Linked DNA regions of Homo sapiens: all the other regions are linked to region 5. The links are contacts of gene promoters, found by promoter capture Hi-C in human tissues and cell types (Jung and others, 2019). All regions are on one chromosome and are shown on one strand. The core of a region is centred on a gene start or on the middle of the fragment in contact, and the rest is flanking DNA. Distances in the headings are between cores, read along the strand shown. Region 1 holds the start of IFI6 (interferon alpha inducible protein 6). Region 2 holds the start of AHDC1 (AT-hook DNA binding motif containing 1). Region 3 holds the start of FAM76A (family with sequence similarity 76 member A). Region 4 holds the start of FGR (FGR proto-oncogene, Src family tyrosine kinase). Region 5 overlaps LOC101928391 (a long non-coding RNA gene).

Region 1 (2,700 bases), core at 159-2,658, 610 kb before region 5:
AAGTCAGTATAATATTTTGGTATCAGCTGGAAACGGACCACTCTATTACAGCCCCATTTGGGGGTGGCACTGAATAATAGTGAATCCTCCCAGGGGGCAGAACTAGGAGCAGTATACCGTGTTGTTCCCTCTGTATGCAGAGAGAGAGAGAGAGAGATGGACTGAAGTACAGACATACACCAATTCCTAATAAGAGGCAAATGGCTTGGCTGGTTGGTCAAAGGCATGGATGGAACAAGATTGGAAGATTGGGAATAAGCAGGTGTGGGTTAGGGGCATAAGAATGAACTCTGAATGGGCATAAAGCACCTGGATCTCTATGTCTCATGTTAATGCTGACCAGAGATCATCTGCTGCAGAGGAGGCTCTACAGCCCAATGGCCAGGATGTCCCATCCTGTGGATGTCAGCCAGCCTCTAAACTTAGCCTCACTATTGCCTTGCAATAGACCTATGAGTGTCCAAGGTGGTAAGGATGGGGGTTAGAAATGAGTCCAACAACTTGGGCTCCCTCTCACCAAAACTGATCTGGCAATTGCCAAAATATAGCCAATCTGCCAGCAGCAGGTAGCAATATGGCAAAATTTCTCAATGAGAATAGCCAGCCATCTGGTGGCAGGTCAATTATTTCAGACCCCTTCCACTTGGGAGAAGGCAATGATTCATCCTTACTGGAATTTCTATGTTCTCCAAATAGAGGTTGCATTTCTGACCCATAGCACTTCAAGCATCACCATCCAAAGGCTTTAAAGAATGCTCAGTTCATTACCTAGGGCCAGGGGACCCATCTTGAAACTCAAGATCTATCATGATGGCCACATGAACACAGGCTTCACTGGTCTTACCATATGCCCATGACCCAGAAGCAGCCAGCCTGAGAGAACAATGGAACAAAGTGACTTAATTTCCAAAGTTCTGGGGGTTTATAAACAGCATATGGTATGTCACATGACTACTGTGGGATTGGAAAAAGATCATGTAAATAGAGCACTTTGCACAGACCCTGGCATGCAGCAAGTGCTCAATAAATGATAGGTGTTGTTTACTAATTGGACTGAATGGTGAAAGGCCTGTGTGCCCCAGGGGGAGCTGGTGATCAGGCTTCACTAAGCCCAGTATGGCCGTGGCTCTCATCATAGTGTGACATGCTTTGAATACCCTTAGCGGCTCCAAAAGTCCTCAGCTTGAAGTGCATTTTTCTGCCAGCAGGCAGCACACAAATGTTCCCGCTGGGCGGAGCTGGGAGAGAGGGGAAAATGAAACTCTGCAGAGTGCAGGAGCTGGGAGAGAGGGGAAAATGAAACTGCAGAGTGCAGAAATAGAAACTCCGACAGGGATTGGCTGCCTAGGGTGAGACGTGGGAGGATCCACAAGTGATGATAAAAAGCCAGCCTTCAGCCGGAGAACCGTTTACTCGCTGCTGTGCCCATCTATCAGCAGGCTCCGGGCTGAAGATTGCTTCTCTTCTCTCCTCCAAGGTAAACTCAGGAGCTATGAAGTGTGGGCATCAAGCTGCCACCCTCTGCCAGGCTGCCTGTCTGCCTGTAAATCTCATGTTCTGAGAGCCAGGAGGCCCCTTCTCCTGGGAGGCAGCACTCCTGGGTCCCTTTTAGTGCTCTGGGCTGGGACTTGTCTAAGAGGATGGGTTGGAGATTTTTAGGGAGATGGGATGCAAAACCCCAAGTGGCATGAGACCCAGCTTACAGGTGCAATATCAGCGATCTGTGGCCTTAACACTGTCACCTCTTGGAGCCTTAATTACTTCCTCTGTAAAAGGAAAGTTAAGTTGCCTTTGCTGCTCAAAGGACTGGATGATTTTAGAATCCCCTTTATTATAGGATCCAATGTGACAGTGAGTTCATCTTTAAGGATAGATGAAGCCATCTGGAGTGGTTGTTAAAAATGTGGGCTTGGTGGCCGGGCGTGGTGGTTCACGCCTGTAATCCCAGCACTTTGGGAGGCCGAGACCCACGGATCACGAGGTCAGGAGATCGAGACCATCCTGGCTAACACAGTGAAACCCTGTCTCTACTAAAAATACAAAAAAAATTAGCCGGGCTTGGTGGTGGGCGCCTGTAGTCTCAGCTACTCGGGAGGCTGAGGCAGGCAGGAGAATGGCATGAACCTGGGAGGTGGAGCTTGCAGTGAGATGAGATTGCGCCACTGCACTCCAGCCTGGGCGACAGAGAAAGACTCCATCTCAAAAAAAAAAAAAAAAAAATGTGGGCTTGGGTATTAGCCAATTGTGGGTTTAAACCCTGACTTTGCCATGACCTGGCTAGGCAGCCTTGGGAATATTACTTAACCTCTCTGAGCTTCAGTTTCCTTATCTATAACATGTGGTTGATAACAATGGTACCTACTTCGTGGTGTTGTTATAGGTACAAGTGGACTGCGTGCCATAAAGTGCTAAGTACTCAATACATGAGAGGAGTTTCTTGTTTTTCTTTTTAACTTAAGAAAATAGCATTGATCTGACAAAGATCATATTAGAGGTGAGTCTGAGGGCATATGCATTTTCCAGTTTTGTGGTATAAAGGAAAGAGCATAGGTTCATGAATTCTGACTGTCTTGAATGTGTACCCATGTTGCACAATTTGCTGTGTGACCTTTATCCCTTGTGATATTGTAAAATATATTTTTTCATCCCCCAGTTCCTGGCATACAACTCCTAAAATCCTTGGAATCTTCAAAGTGATAA
Region 2 (2,700 bases), core at 42-2,541, 540 kb before region 5:
GACACAGGGTGTGGAACATCAGACACACAGATGAGGTGGTCCAGTGAGGTGGGACCGCCGCAGGGCCAGTCAGGGCCGGCGTTGGTAGACACCTAGGACACAGGACACGACAGCCACTATGCATTATTCATCTCCGTGTCCCTTGCAAGCCCTGCATACCTCAGTTAACATTTGTTGAAGTGCCAAGAAAGGACACACAGACACAGGGAGAGAAGGTCAGTTACAGAAATGGAGGGAGTCACAACTCCTTGTCATAGCCCAGGGGTTAAGCTTGTGGGGTTTGGAGTTAGTCAGACCCTGGTTCAAATCCAGCTGGGTTCAGCCACTTGCTAACTGGAGAACCTGGACCTCAGTGCCCCCATCTCTAAAATGGAAATAACAGCACTATTTTACCGCAGCAGTTCAGCCATCTCCGGGGGCGGTAACAAGGCCCCCAAGCAGCGCACATTCCCATCTGTGGGATAGGCTAGGCAGGGGCTGGAGAACACATGTGACCTGAAGAGGAGGTAGGTGAAAGTGCTGAGCCCAGCCCCCGGCCGCGGCAGGAGGTCAGCACCGTTCAATCTGAATCCTGCTTCCTGACACAACGCAAATGCTCAGCAGAATTCGGAAAAGGGTGTGTGTGTTCTATCTGCGGATTATCCAGGACTTTTGAGCCCTCGCCGCCCTTGGACATATAGGAAAGCTGGGAGTTGCAAGGGCGAAACCGAGGTCGGAGTTTGAGAGGAGGGGTCACTGAGTGAGGAAGCAGCGCTGGCTGGGTCTCCCCCGCTCCCCCGCCCCAGCAGCCCTCCCGCCATATATACTTGAGCTTTACTCAATAAGAAACCTTTTCAGAAAAGGATAACGTCCCCAGATTGAGAGAGCCGGTCCTCTCCTCTGCCCTCTCCCCCTCCCATTTAATTGGGACGCCCCAGAAAGTCGCAGCCCCTTTGGCTAATCCCCTGGTTCCCTATTCCACTCCCATTCCACTCTCAGACCCCGCCCCTTCACTCCCACCCGCAACCTCCGCTCGATCCAGAGCCCCCCGGTGGAGACAAGGAACACAGGGACCATTCTTAACCCTTGGGGAGGATCTTCGCCCGTTGGTAAACGAGGACGCGCTCCAGCCAGACGAGCCCCAGGCGCGGGGTCCCCGGGGCTCCTGGCCGCGCCGTCGGAGCAGCCGGCGCGGCCCCGCCCTCCCCGCGCGCGGAGCGGCCGGGGCGGGGACTACAAGTCCCGGCGTGCCGCGCGCGCGCTCCCCCCTGGGGTTCCGGATGGTGAGCGGCGAAGGTAAGGCGAGCTCGCAGAGGCAGCGGCGGCGGCGGCGGAGACGGAGAGAGGCAGGCAGGCAGGGCGAGGGCGAGAGACGGAGGGAGGGAGCGAGCGAGGCGGACCAGACAGACAGACAGGCGGGCGGGCGGGCAGAGCGAGCCACCCGCCAGGCTGCGCTCAGCCCCGCTCGCAGCGGAGAGAGCAGAAGGCAGGAGGAGGGAGGGGAGGAGGGGGAGGGAGGGAGAGAGGGAATCCAGCTACCACCACCCAAAGCCAGCGTCTGCTTTCTGTCCTCATTTCCTTTTCCCACCCAGCTTGGAGAGCAGAGAAAGGCAGAGAGAGCGAGAAATAGAGACAGTCTGAGAGACAGACAGACAGCCAGAGAGAGCGGGAGGGAGGAGGGCGGAGGAGGAGGAGCAGGAGGACTACGCGGGGCGCGTTCCCTCCCAGGTTTGCTATTGGGGGGGGTGGGGGCGGGGGTGTCCAGGGCTGGGAGAGTGTGTGCGCGGCGGGAGGGCGAGGGGGGCGCAGAGAGAGCGAAGGAGTGATCGAGGTGGGGGGGCGCCGCGGGAGCGGGGGGCCGTGTCCAGCGGAGTTAGCGGCGGAGAATGTGAGCCGAGGCGCGAGCCATGCTGTCAGCGACGGCGGGCGGCTCAGGGCTCCTCCACGACTCCTCTCCTCAGCAGCCGGGCGCCCGCGTCGCTGCCACCGCCGGAAGACAGACGTCCCCCAAAACCCCTCGCCTGGCTCGGACCCACGGAGCCGGCAGCCCAGCACTCCGGTGAGTGGCGCCTCCTCCCCAGCCCCAGACCCCCGCTGGGGACCGGCCGGCCAGGCTCTTTTGTGCAGCGCACGGGGGGGGCCTGCGTCCCCCGGTCCGGTCCGCTGGACCCGGTGGCTGCGGTGCCCGCGGTGCGATCGGTCTTTGTTTCCACCGGGGCCCGCGGCTCGGCTGGGCTCGGCTCGAAGCCTGGCAGGCAGCGCCGGGAAGGGGGAGGGGGAGGTGGACGGGGAGGGGGGGCGGGGAGGGGGGGTTCTCGGGTTTCCTGGCCGCCCCGCGGCTCCCCCGGCTCGGGGGCGAGGTGCGCGCCCAGCGCTGCCGCGCGCCCCCTCCTCCTTCCCCCTCCCTCCGCCTTTGGATTTAAAACTGCAATTTGCTCTCCAGCTTGCTGAGAATGTGGGGGGGGGGGGAATGAAGGGGGGACCGTGGGAGCGGAGAACAAGGCTGGATTTTAGGATCGGCGCTGGGAAAAGGGGAGACTGCGGAGGGAGGAGCCCCTCCCCTCCAACCCCCAAATCCCTAGGATCCACTGGCTCTCGGGGAGTTGAGGGGCGGGGACCTAATGACCCGGAGGGGGTGTGGGGCGGAGGAGGGATTTGGGGGCGGCTAGGGCTGGAGGGGTTGGGCCGCGTGCCCGGTTACCTGGCGAACAAAGTCGGCTC
Region 3 (2,700 bases), core at 190-2,689, 670 kb before region 5:
GGGTACTATTTCTAGCATAGCTACTATGCTTGAGTGAGTCACTTAAACTTTCTGGGCCTTATTTTTCTCCTCTGTAATACTGGCATCACTTCCCTACTGTTGATGTGGGAGTTAAGTAAGAACTTATATGGATTATATGGAACTAGCCATAAATTGTAAAACAAACATATATATGAACAAGTCCCAGACTGGGAATCAGAAGCCCTGAATTCCAGGCCTGGTTCTTCTGCCACTGTGTGATTTTGCGGTTTACTTGTGAAATGAAAGTGCTGGATTAAAATTATTATTTATATATACATAACTTCCTTAAAATCATATATACATATTTTGAGGCCAAAAAGGGCACTCAAGCACTTGCATTCCCCCAGACCTGGTATATAAAAACTGGCAAATGGAAAGTCATGACCATCTGAGGCAAAAGTGACAATTATGAGTTATCCAAATCAGAGACACAAACTGGATTATTGGATAACCTCAACATTATTCTTCAGCCAGTTTGGTGACTTTTTAACTGTTGCCTCACAGCACCTCTAGTCACTTAAAAAGTAAAAGTGGGATAAAGCAACTTAAAAGAAAAAGAGAAGTTGGACCTTCAGGAGCAAAAACTGATCAGCAGCTAGTCAGGGAAGACCGAAGACCACCAACTGGATGCTGAGAAGTGATCCCTCGGATCTGTGAGCCTGACTGTGGGGCTTTTTTAAAACATAAAGCCTTGCTGCCTCCGATTCTGAGACTGGCCGAAAAGTGAGATGCTTAAAAAAAAAAAAAAAATCAAGCCTTGCTACCTCCGATTCTGAAACTGGTCGAAAAGTGCCCGTGAGGAGCCCGAGTTCGACACATTCCTCCAAGGCAGCACCCAACTTTGGAGTTCAGTCCCAGGAGGGGCAGGAGGTCCCCACCAGGGAGACCGCGGCGGCGGGGGAGGCAGCGCAAAGGGATCCCGAAGGCGACCAGTCAGGGCAAGCAGGGGACCCGCTGTCCCTCCCCCGACCTCACGGGGTCCGAGAACAATCCCCACGGTTGCTAAGCACCCGGACACGCCGGCCGCGGGAGCCTGGACCGGGTCCCGGCTCCCGCACGTGCCCCGCCGGCCCCCAGCGGGGTGGGTGCGGCTCCTCAGCCTGGCGGGCCTGCCACACCCTGCTCCGGGGACCCCGCCGGGCGTCCCCACAGAATCTGGAGCTCCGGGCCGCGCCTCCTGCGTCCCCAGTTCCCGGCCGCCGCCCCAGCCCGCGCACCTTGCACAGCTGCTGCCCCTGAGACAGCGCCTCGAAGGGGAAGCGCTGGTGGCACTTGGTGCAGGCGTAGAGCGCCGCCATGTCCGGCCCGGGCCGCGCTCACCGACCCGCCGGCCCGGCCCGCCGATTTATCTGACAGTCTGAGGCACAACCCGGCGGCGGCTGCAGGCTGCTGGCTGCGGCAGGCGGGCGGGCGCAGGCGGGTCGGGGCGGACCCGGGCGGGCTGGGGCGGGCACGGCGACTCTAGACGCCCGCTCACTGGTGGGCTTTGACGTCGATCAAGTGGGAAGGGGCGGAACACGGAGCTTTCGCCCACTCTGATTCGGTCTGGCCTGGAGTACGCCACTGTGACGCTCCAGGCCGCGATTATGTAAAGCGCAGTCACGCGGGGGCGCCACCTGGAGGGGACAGGCTCCCGGCCGGGACCTCGGAAGAGCTTAGGCTCCGCCCTACTTGCTCAGCGTTCCCGCCCTCGCTCCGCCTCTCCACGGCCTCAGGCGCATCTGCGCTTCTCGCGATACCTTCGGGGATTTGTGATGTTTTGGTTTCCATGGAGCTGCCCTCTGGGAGCACGAGGGGTACAATTGGAACGAAGGCGGCGCACAGTTAACTGGAACTCTGCAGCCGTCCAAGCCCAAAGAAGGTGGGGAGCTTGGGAAAGAAGTTCCTCATAATCGGAGCAGGAGGAGCCCGCCCAGCCTCGCTCAAAGGAGGAGACGAGACTCTGAGGGACAATTTAGAAGTGTGTCCTCAATTTAAGACACCTAAATAGGGAACTGTGGGGCTGTGGGCCTTAGGAGAGAAAAGGAGAGCCCCAGAGAGAGCACCCCTATGCTGCGGAAGAGGGACTAAAGAGATGGCAGTCCTTCCAGGAGGGATTGGACAGATATTCAGGCGTCCGGTGGCCTGCAGGCCCCCATCAGAGTGGGCTGCAATTGGCCCAGACCTGCTTCCTACTTTGTTTTCTCCGGTTTCACCCCCAGCTTCTCTCGCAAGCAACCACCTGGTGATTCCTGACGAGGCCTGACTTCCGGAAGGCAAGCCACGCCCTCCGGGCTCCCCTGCCTCTCTTTGGCTCCAGCTTGGCATGTATAGGAGCTGCCCAAGGAATGACAGACTTCTTGTTCTTGAGGTGTTGGCAAAGCTTCCTGCACTGCTGACCTATCCAAGTCCTGCCTTGTAGCTGCTCTTGGGCATAGGTTACTCTTGGCTCTGCCAACCACCCGTACAGGACTAATTGCAGTTTTACCTCAACGTGCGCTTTTTACAATTAAAAACTGACTTAATGGCTTCTATTTCCCTGCCTCAACAAAAAAAATTTACTCTCTCTGAACCCAAATCTGGCTGCTTCCTTGTAGGATCCCCCAAAGATGTGCATTAATCATTAGGATCAGAAAGCAAAGTTTCCAAATCACTGTTCCACAACTAACTACATGACCTTGGATCTATCACTGAACTTCT
Region 4 (2,700 bases), core at 189-2,688, 580 kb before region 5:
CTGGACAGGAGGGATATTCCGGGTTCTTGCTTTAAGGCTGAAGTAACAGTGGTGGGAGTGGGGACTGAACCCCAGATTGAGGAGGGGTCAGGGATCCCTATCAGACAGAGAGACTGGAACTGATAGAGGATGCTACCGTTTCTCTTTTTGTTTTTAAAAATCTTTTTCCACATGTTCTAAGATACTCAGTTTTTCTTCCTTTTTTTTTTTTTTTTTTTTTTTCTTGAGACGGAGTCTCGCTCTGTCGCCCAGGCTGGAGTGCAGTGGCGCCATCTCGGCTCACTGCAAGCTCCGCCTCCCGGGTTCACACCATTCTCCTGCCTCAGCCTCCTGAGTAGCTGAGACTACAGGCGCCCGCCACCACGCCCGGCTAATTTTTTGATTTTTAGTAGAGATGGGCTTTCACTGTGTTAGCCAGGACGGTCTTGATCTCCTAACATCGTGATCCACCCGCCTCGGCCTCCCAAAGTGCTGGGATTACAGGCGTGAGCCGCTGCACCCGGCCTTTTCTTTCTTTTTTTTAAAAAAAGTCATTTTCTGCAACAAAACCCACATTCTTTTTTTGTGTTTTTTTTTTTTAAGGCAGGGTCTTGCTCTGTCACCCAAGGTAGAGTGCAGTAGCTCAATCACAGCTCACTGCAGCCTCGACCTGCCTGACTCGAGGGATCCTTCCACCTCTGCCTCTGCAGTAGCTGGGACCACAGGTGCACACCACCACACCGAGCTAACTTAAGAAAAATTTTTTTTGGTAGAGATGGTGTCTCCCTATGCTGCCTAGGCTGGTCTGGAATTCCTGGGCTCAAGCAATCCTCCCACCCAACCTCCCAAAGTGCTGGGATTACAGGCTGAGCCACTGCCCCCAGCCAGTTACTCAGTTTTTCTAAAACTTGGGTGCCTGGGGGAGGCTGACACCCTTCCCACTCCTCTGAAAGGCAGTTTCCTAAGGGAAGGGTCTTCTGCTGCTCACCACCCTTAACAGCCCTGTGTCCCCAGTGCTCAGCCCCTGAGGAAGGGAAGGCGTGCTGACAGGGTCCATGTGATCCATGTCCAGTGGCTCTGGTGACAGCAGTCTGAAGTCAACTGGCTGTGAGAACTCGAGTAAGGCCAGTCCCGATCTGGTCCTCAGTGATGGAGAAAAGCCCCTCTTAACCTCCAATTCAATGATCCTAAAAGAGCAGGTGCTTCGGGGGTGCTGAAACTGCGCTTTTGGAGGGGGCTTTTGGGAAGGCCGGGCTGGGGACTCAGGTCTGGAGGGTGACAGAGCCGACCTCCCGTAAACCAGGGAGGAGGAAGGTGGGGGCGGGTGGGCCTAGGATCTGGGGGCGCCTCCTCGCTGCGGGGAGCTGGCTTGGGGCTAGGGCGTGACTGTCTCCCTGCCACCATCACCGCCCGCCGGCCGTGACTGCAATAAGAGAAGTCCGAGGCGGCTTCCTCCTCCCTGCCCAGCAGGGGCGGCGGTCAGAGGCGGGCAGCACCCCAGTTCTCCCCGCACGCCGGCACTCGCGGCTGCTGGAGCCCCGGCTGGCTCACCCCGGGGCCGGGCAGAATTGGGCTCCAGGTAAGCGACAGCGTCGGGTGGGGACTGGGCAGGTCAAGCAGTGCCCTCCCCCTCGAGGCTCTGGAGAGAGGACTGGGGGTACACGGGAAGAGAAGCCTGAACCTGGGGGTCGGGGGACACATGAGCAAGGTGACAGCCAAAGGGACCCCAGCCCGAAAAGGCCTAAGGAGGAAAACGGGCGACCTGAAAAGCAAGGCTGATAAACCTGGAGGAGAGGGCGGAGGGGAGCACGGGGGAAGCCGACCAAAGGGACCCCCAAAAAGGTCTAGTGGGTAAAATGGAGGGGACTGATAAGAGTTTAGGAAGGGGGCTGAGGTGGGGGAGAAGGATTAAGGGGAATCCCCAGGACGGTCTGGGGGAGAAACTGAAGGGATCGTGAGAGTGGGACTTTGGGGAGAAGCCGACGGGTCTGATGGGTCCAGGAGAGGGGAAATGGGTGGGGGTGCTGGAGGGAACAGGAGAGGGAGCTGGCGGGAAGGGGGTTGAGGAGAACGACTTCTGGAGGACGGAGAACCTGGGGTGCAATTGCGGGTCCAGGAAGTTCCCCTCTTCCGAGCCGGCCGAAGTCGGGGTGAAGCCCACAGCCCGCAGGGTAACGTTAGCGGCCGCGACCGCGGCCCCGCGACCCTCTCGGCCCGCCCTTGCGGTAGGTTCCGGGCTGCAGGGGACTCCTGCCGGGCGCGCGAGGCGTGGGTCCCCGCTTCCTGGGGAAGTCCCCGCCCTCGGCAGGGACAGGCCTCTCCGGGCGCCCCCTCCGCGCCCGCGGCGGTCTCGGCCCGCGCTCCCCGCTGGATCCGGGAATTGCTGCCGCCCCGACGGAAATCCTGCCTTTGACCGCGAGTGCCCGCAGGGGCTGCCTCCAAGGCAACGAGAGGGCGGGCCGCGCTGGGCCGCCGCGGGGCTCCGGGTGGGCGCAGCCCCCTTTGCTCTCCGCCTTCGCCCCCTTTTGGAATCCTCGGTCTGGTGGGTGGGGGGTGGGCTTCCCGACCGAGGTAGGAGGCGATGCCGCTGTGTTCAGGGATCCTGGGGTGGAGGATCTGCTGTTTGAGAGACCTGGGTTCTTAGCAAGACTGGGCCCTTAATTGCTGTGTGACTGTGGGCAAGTTACAGGGCTTCTCTGGGCCTCACTTTCCTCATCTGAA
Region 5 (2,700 bases), core at 29-2,528:
AAACCTTTCACCAGCTTCCCACTATGCTGAGGAAAAGGTCAGGGTCCCTAAAGTAGCCCGCAATGCCCATACCCCACACACCTGGCCTGCATGCTGGCCTCCATGTATGAGCTGTATGACTTTGAACGAGTTATTTAAACTTGTCTGTGCTTCAGTTTCCTCATTTATAAAATCGCAATAACAGAACCTACCTCAGGACTGTTTGAGGGTAAAATATGCTACATGAGGTGCTTAGAATAGGGCCTGCCATGCGGAAAGTCCTCAAGAAGCATTGCTGCTATTACTGTTATTATTTTTGTCCCACTGTCTCTTGCTCTCCCCGCTAGGATACACACCCCAGCTGCCTGACTGTGGAGCTCCGCCTTCTAACCCCTCTGGCAGCATCCAAAGGCAAAAGGCCACGGCAAAGCTTCTCCTCAGACGTCCTCCTTGAAGACGTCCTCCTTGTTTTATAAGGGGGTGGGGGAACTTTCCAGAACCCCTTTCTGTCTCATTGACTAGAATGGGATTCTATGCCTGCCCCTAAACAAACAGAGGTAGAGAGTGGGGCCGGGCGCGGTGGCTCACGCCTGTAATCCCAACACTTTGGGAGGCCAAGGCAGGCGGATCATGAGGTCAGGCAATCGAGACCATCCTGGCTAACACGGTGAAACCCTGCCTCTACTAAAAAATATAAAAAATTAGCCGGGCGTGGTGGCGAGCGCCTGTAGTCCCAGTGTAGCAGGACGAGCTGCAGACAAAACTCCTCAGACACCGAGTTGAAGGAAGGGGTTTAATCGGCTGGGGGCATCGGCAAGACTCCTGTCTCGAGAGCCGAGCTCCCCGAGTGAGCAATTCCTATCCCTTTTAAGGGCTCACAACTCTAAGGAGGGTGCGTGTGAGGGGGTCGGGATTGATTGAGCAAGCAAGGGGTACGTGACTGGGGTCTGCATGCACTGGTAACTAGATCGGAACAAAACAGATAGGGATTTTCACAGTGCATTTCTATACAATGTCTGTAATCTATAGACAACATAACTGATTAGGTCAGGGGTCGATCTTTAACTACCAGGCCCAGGGTGCAGCGCCGGGCTGTCTGCCTGTGGATTTCATTTCTGCCTTTTAGTTTTTACTTCTTTCTTTGGAGGCAGAAATTGGGCATAAGACAATGTGAGGGGTGGTCTCCTCCCTTACCAGCTACTCGGGAGGCTGAGGCAGGAGAATGGCGTGAACCCCAGAGGCGGAGATTGTAGTGAGCCGAGATTGCGCCACTGCACTCCAGCCTGGGCAACAGCGAGACTCCGTTTCAAAAAAAAACAAAAAACAAAAAAACAACATCAACAATAGAGGCAGAGAAGAAAGGGAATACCATAGTTATACACACCTGACCCAAAGCAGGGCTCTGTTCCCGTAGACTGGTGGTTCTCAGGTTCCAGGAGAGTCAGAATCACCTGAGGGTTTAAAAAAAAAAACAATTTCCAGGCCGGGCACGGTGGCTCATGCTTGTAATCCCCGCACTTTGGGAGGCCAAGGCAGGCGGATCACCTGAGGTCAGGAGTTTGAGACTAGCTTGGCCAACATGGCGAAACCCTGTCTCTACTAAAAATACAAAAATTAGCCGGGCATGGGGGTGGGTGCCTGTAATCCCAGCTACTCCGGAGGCTGAGGCAGGAGAATTGCTTGAACCTGGGAGGCGGAGTTTGCAGTGAGCCGAGATCGCACCACTGCACTCCAGCCTGGGCGACAGAGCGAGACTCTGTCTCAAAAAAAAAAAAAAAAAAAAAAAAGAATCCCAGCGTGGAAGAGGGGAAAAGATGTAACCCAGCCTGCAAATGCGGGCTCCTCCCTAGAGACTGGCATAAGGTGAGTGCCAGCCCAGACGTGGCCATCACTGTAGCTACACAAAGCCTCCAAGGTTTCTGCCAGCTCTGGGGGCTCATGTGCTCATGGCTGCTGTCCTGCTTCTGCTGATTCCTTGCAGCTGTCGCCTTTACTTCTGTCCTGGAGTTGACCCAAATGAGGGGCAAGAACTGCAGGACATTTTCCCCTGCTCCCAGAGCAACTGCGGGTATAAGGCTGTTGGGCTGTCGTGTGAGGGGGATTTTCCTAAAGACACAGCACACAGGGAGAATAACAGAAGTCACCTTCCTGAGGCTGCCCCGCACTTGGGTTCTGAGGACCTTCGCTCCCTCCCCTCCTTCTCTTCTCCTCCCTCCTGTCTCCCCTGCGGCAACCTGAACTACTCGGCTCTCTCCCCGCTCCTCCTCCTCCTCTGCAACTCAGCTCTAGTCCTGCCTGAGGCCGAACCCTTGAACAGGAGGCCAGGGCTGGAAAGTTGTGGAAATGCCCCTGTGGGGAGCCCTGCCAAGGATGCTGAGGCTGAGCCCCAGCCTGGGGGAGGGGGTGTCCTGATCTGAGCAGACCCTGAGGGCAGACAGAAGGCAGCCAAGGTCTAGAGCTGGTGCCTCTAACCACCTCTACCCCAGAGGCTGTGGGATGCTTGGGAGCCAGGATAGGGCCGGGCTTTGGGTCTACACTACCTTGGTCCTGAGATGGAGTCTAGGAACATTGGTGGGGGTGCCAAGCATTCTGTAGAGGTAGGATGGGGTGGGTCCCTCTCACTTCTTCAGCCCTCAAGATTGCATACAACAGGCTCCTAAGAAATCACTGAGGCTGGCTGGCACGGTGGCTCACAGGTGGCTGAGGCAGGAGAATCACTTG

Evidence for each region. Contacts are between HindIII fragments. The study calls those that stand out against the background at their distance.
Region 1: a contact is called between the fragment with the promoter of IFI6 here and a fragment that was not itself captured in region 5, in 2 of the 25 tissues and cell types used here (IMR-90 fibroblasts and dorsolateral prefrontal cortex).
Region 2: the fragment with the promoter of AHDC1 here is called in contact with a fragment that was not itself captured in region 5 in 6 of the 25 tissues and cell types used here (H1 embryonic stem cells, lymphoblastoid cells, mesenchymal stem cells and 3 more).
Region 3: a contact is called between the fragment with the promoter of FAM76A here and a fragment that was not itself captured in region 5, in 2 of the 25 tissues and cell types used here (dorsolateral prefrontal cortex and lymphoblastoid cells).
Region 4: a contact is called between the fragment with the promoter of FGR here and a fragment that was not itself captured in region 5, in 4 of the 25 tissues and cell types used here (H1 embryonic stem cells, dorsolateral prefrontal cortex, lymphoblastoid cells and 1 more).

The regions. Positions count from the first base shown.
Region 1 is chr1:27,670,900-27,673,599 of GRCh38, reverse strand. IFI6 (interferon alpha inducible protein 6) reads left to right here and starts at 1,408. Exons shown (of 5, transcript NM_002038.4): 1 at 1,408-1,477. RefSeq lists an enhancer at 1,037-1,376. The HindIII fragment of the contact is 16,144 bases long and covers 1-2,700 here.
Region 2 is chr1:27,602,735-27,605,434 of GRCh38, reverse strand. It overlaps AHDC1 (AT-hook DNA binding motif containing 1), which reads left to right and starts at 1,291. Exons shown (of 9, transcript NM_001371928.1): 1 at 1,291-1,329; 2 at 1,572-1,707; 3 at 1,941-2,038. RefSeq lists silencers at 947-1,486, 2,037-2,116 and an enhancer at 2,600-2,649. The HindIII fragment of the contact is 10,400 bases long and covers 1-2,700 here.
Region 3 is chr1:27,724,700-27,727,399 of GRCh38, reverse strand. It overlaps FAM76A (family with sequence similarity 76 member A), which reads right to left and starts at 1,439. Exons shown (of 9, transcript NM_152660.3): 1 at 1,239-1,439. The coding sequence starts at 1,319. RefSeq lists silencers at 915-1,614, 1,453-2,095. The HindIII fragment of the contact is 12,090 bases long and covers 1-2,700 here.
Region 4 is chr1:27,633,923-27,636,622 of GRCh38, reverse strand. FGR (FGR proto-oncogene, Src family tyrosine kinase) reads left to right here and starts at 1,438. Exons shown (of 13, transcript NM_005248.3): 1 at 1,438-1,558. RefSeq lists a silencer at 2,313-2,362. The HindIII fragment of the contact is 29,896 bases long and covers 1-2,700 here.
Region 5 is chr1:27,058,744-27,061,443 of GRCh38, reverse strand. LOC101928391 (a long non-coding RNA gene) reads right to left here. Exons shown (of 8, transcript XR_007065559.1): 7 at 1,364-1,430. Among named protein-coding and RNA genes, the nearest start is that of TENT5B, 47 kb to the right of the region's middle. RefSeq lists a silencer at 2,092-2,386. The HindIII fragment of the contact is 6,810 bases long and covers 1-2,700 here.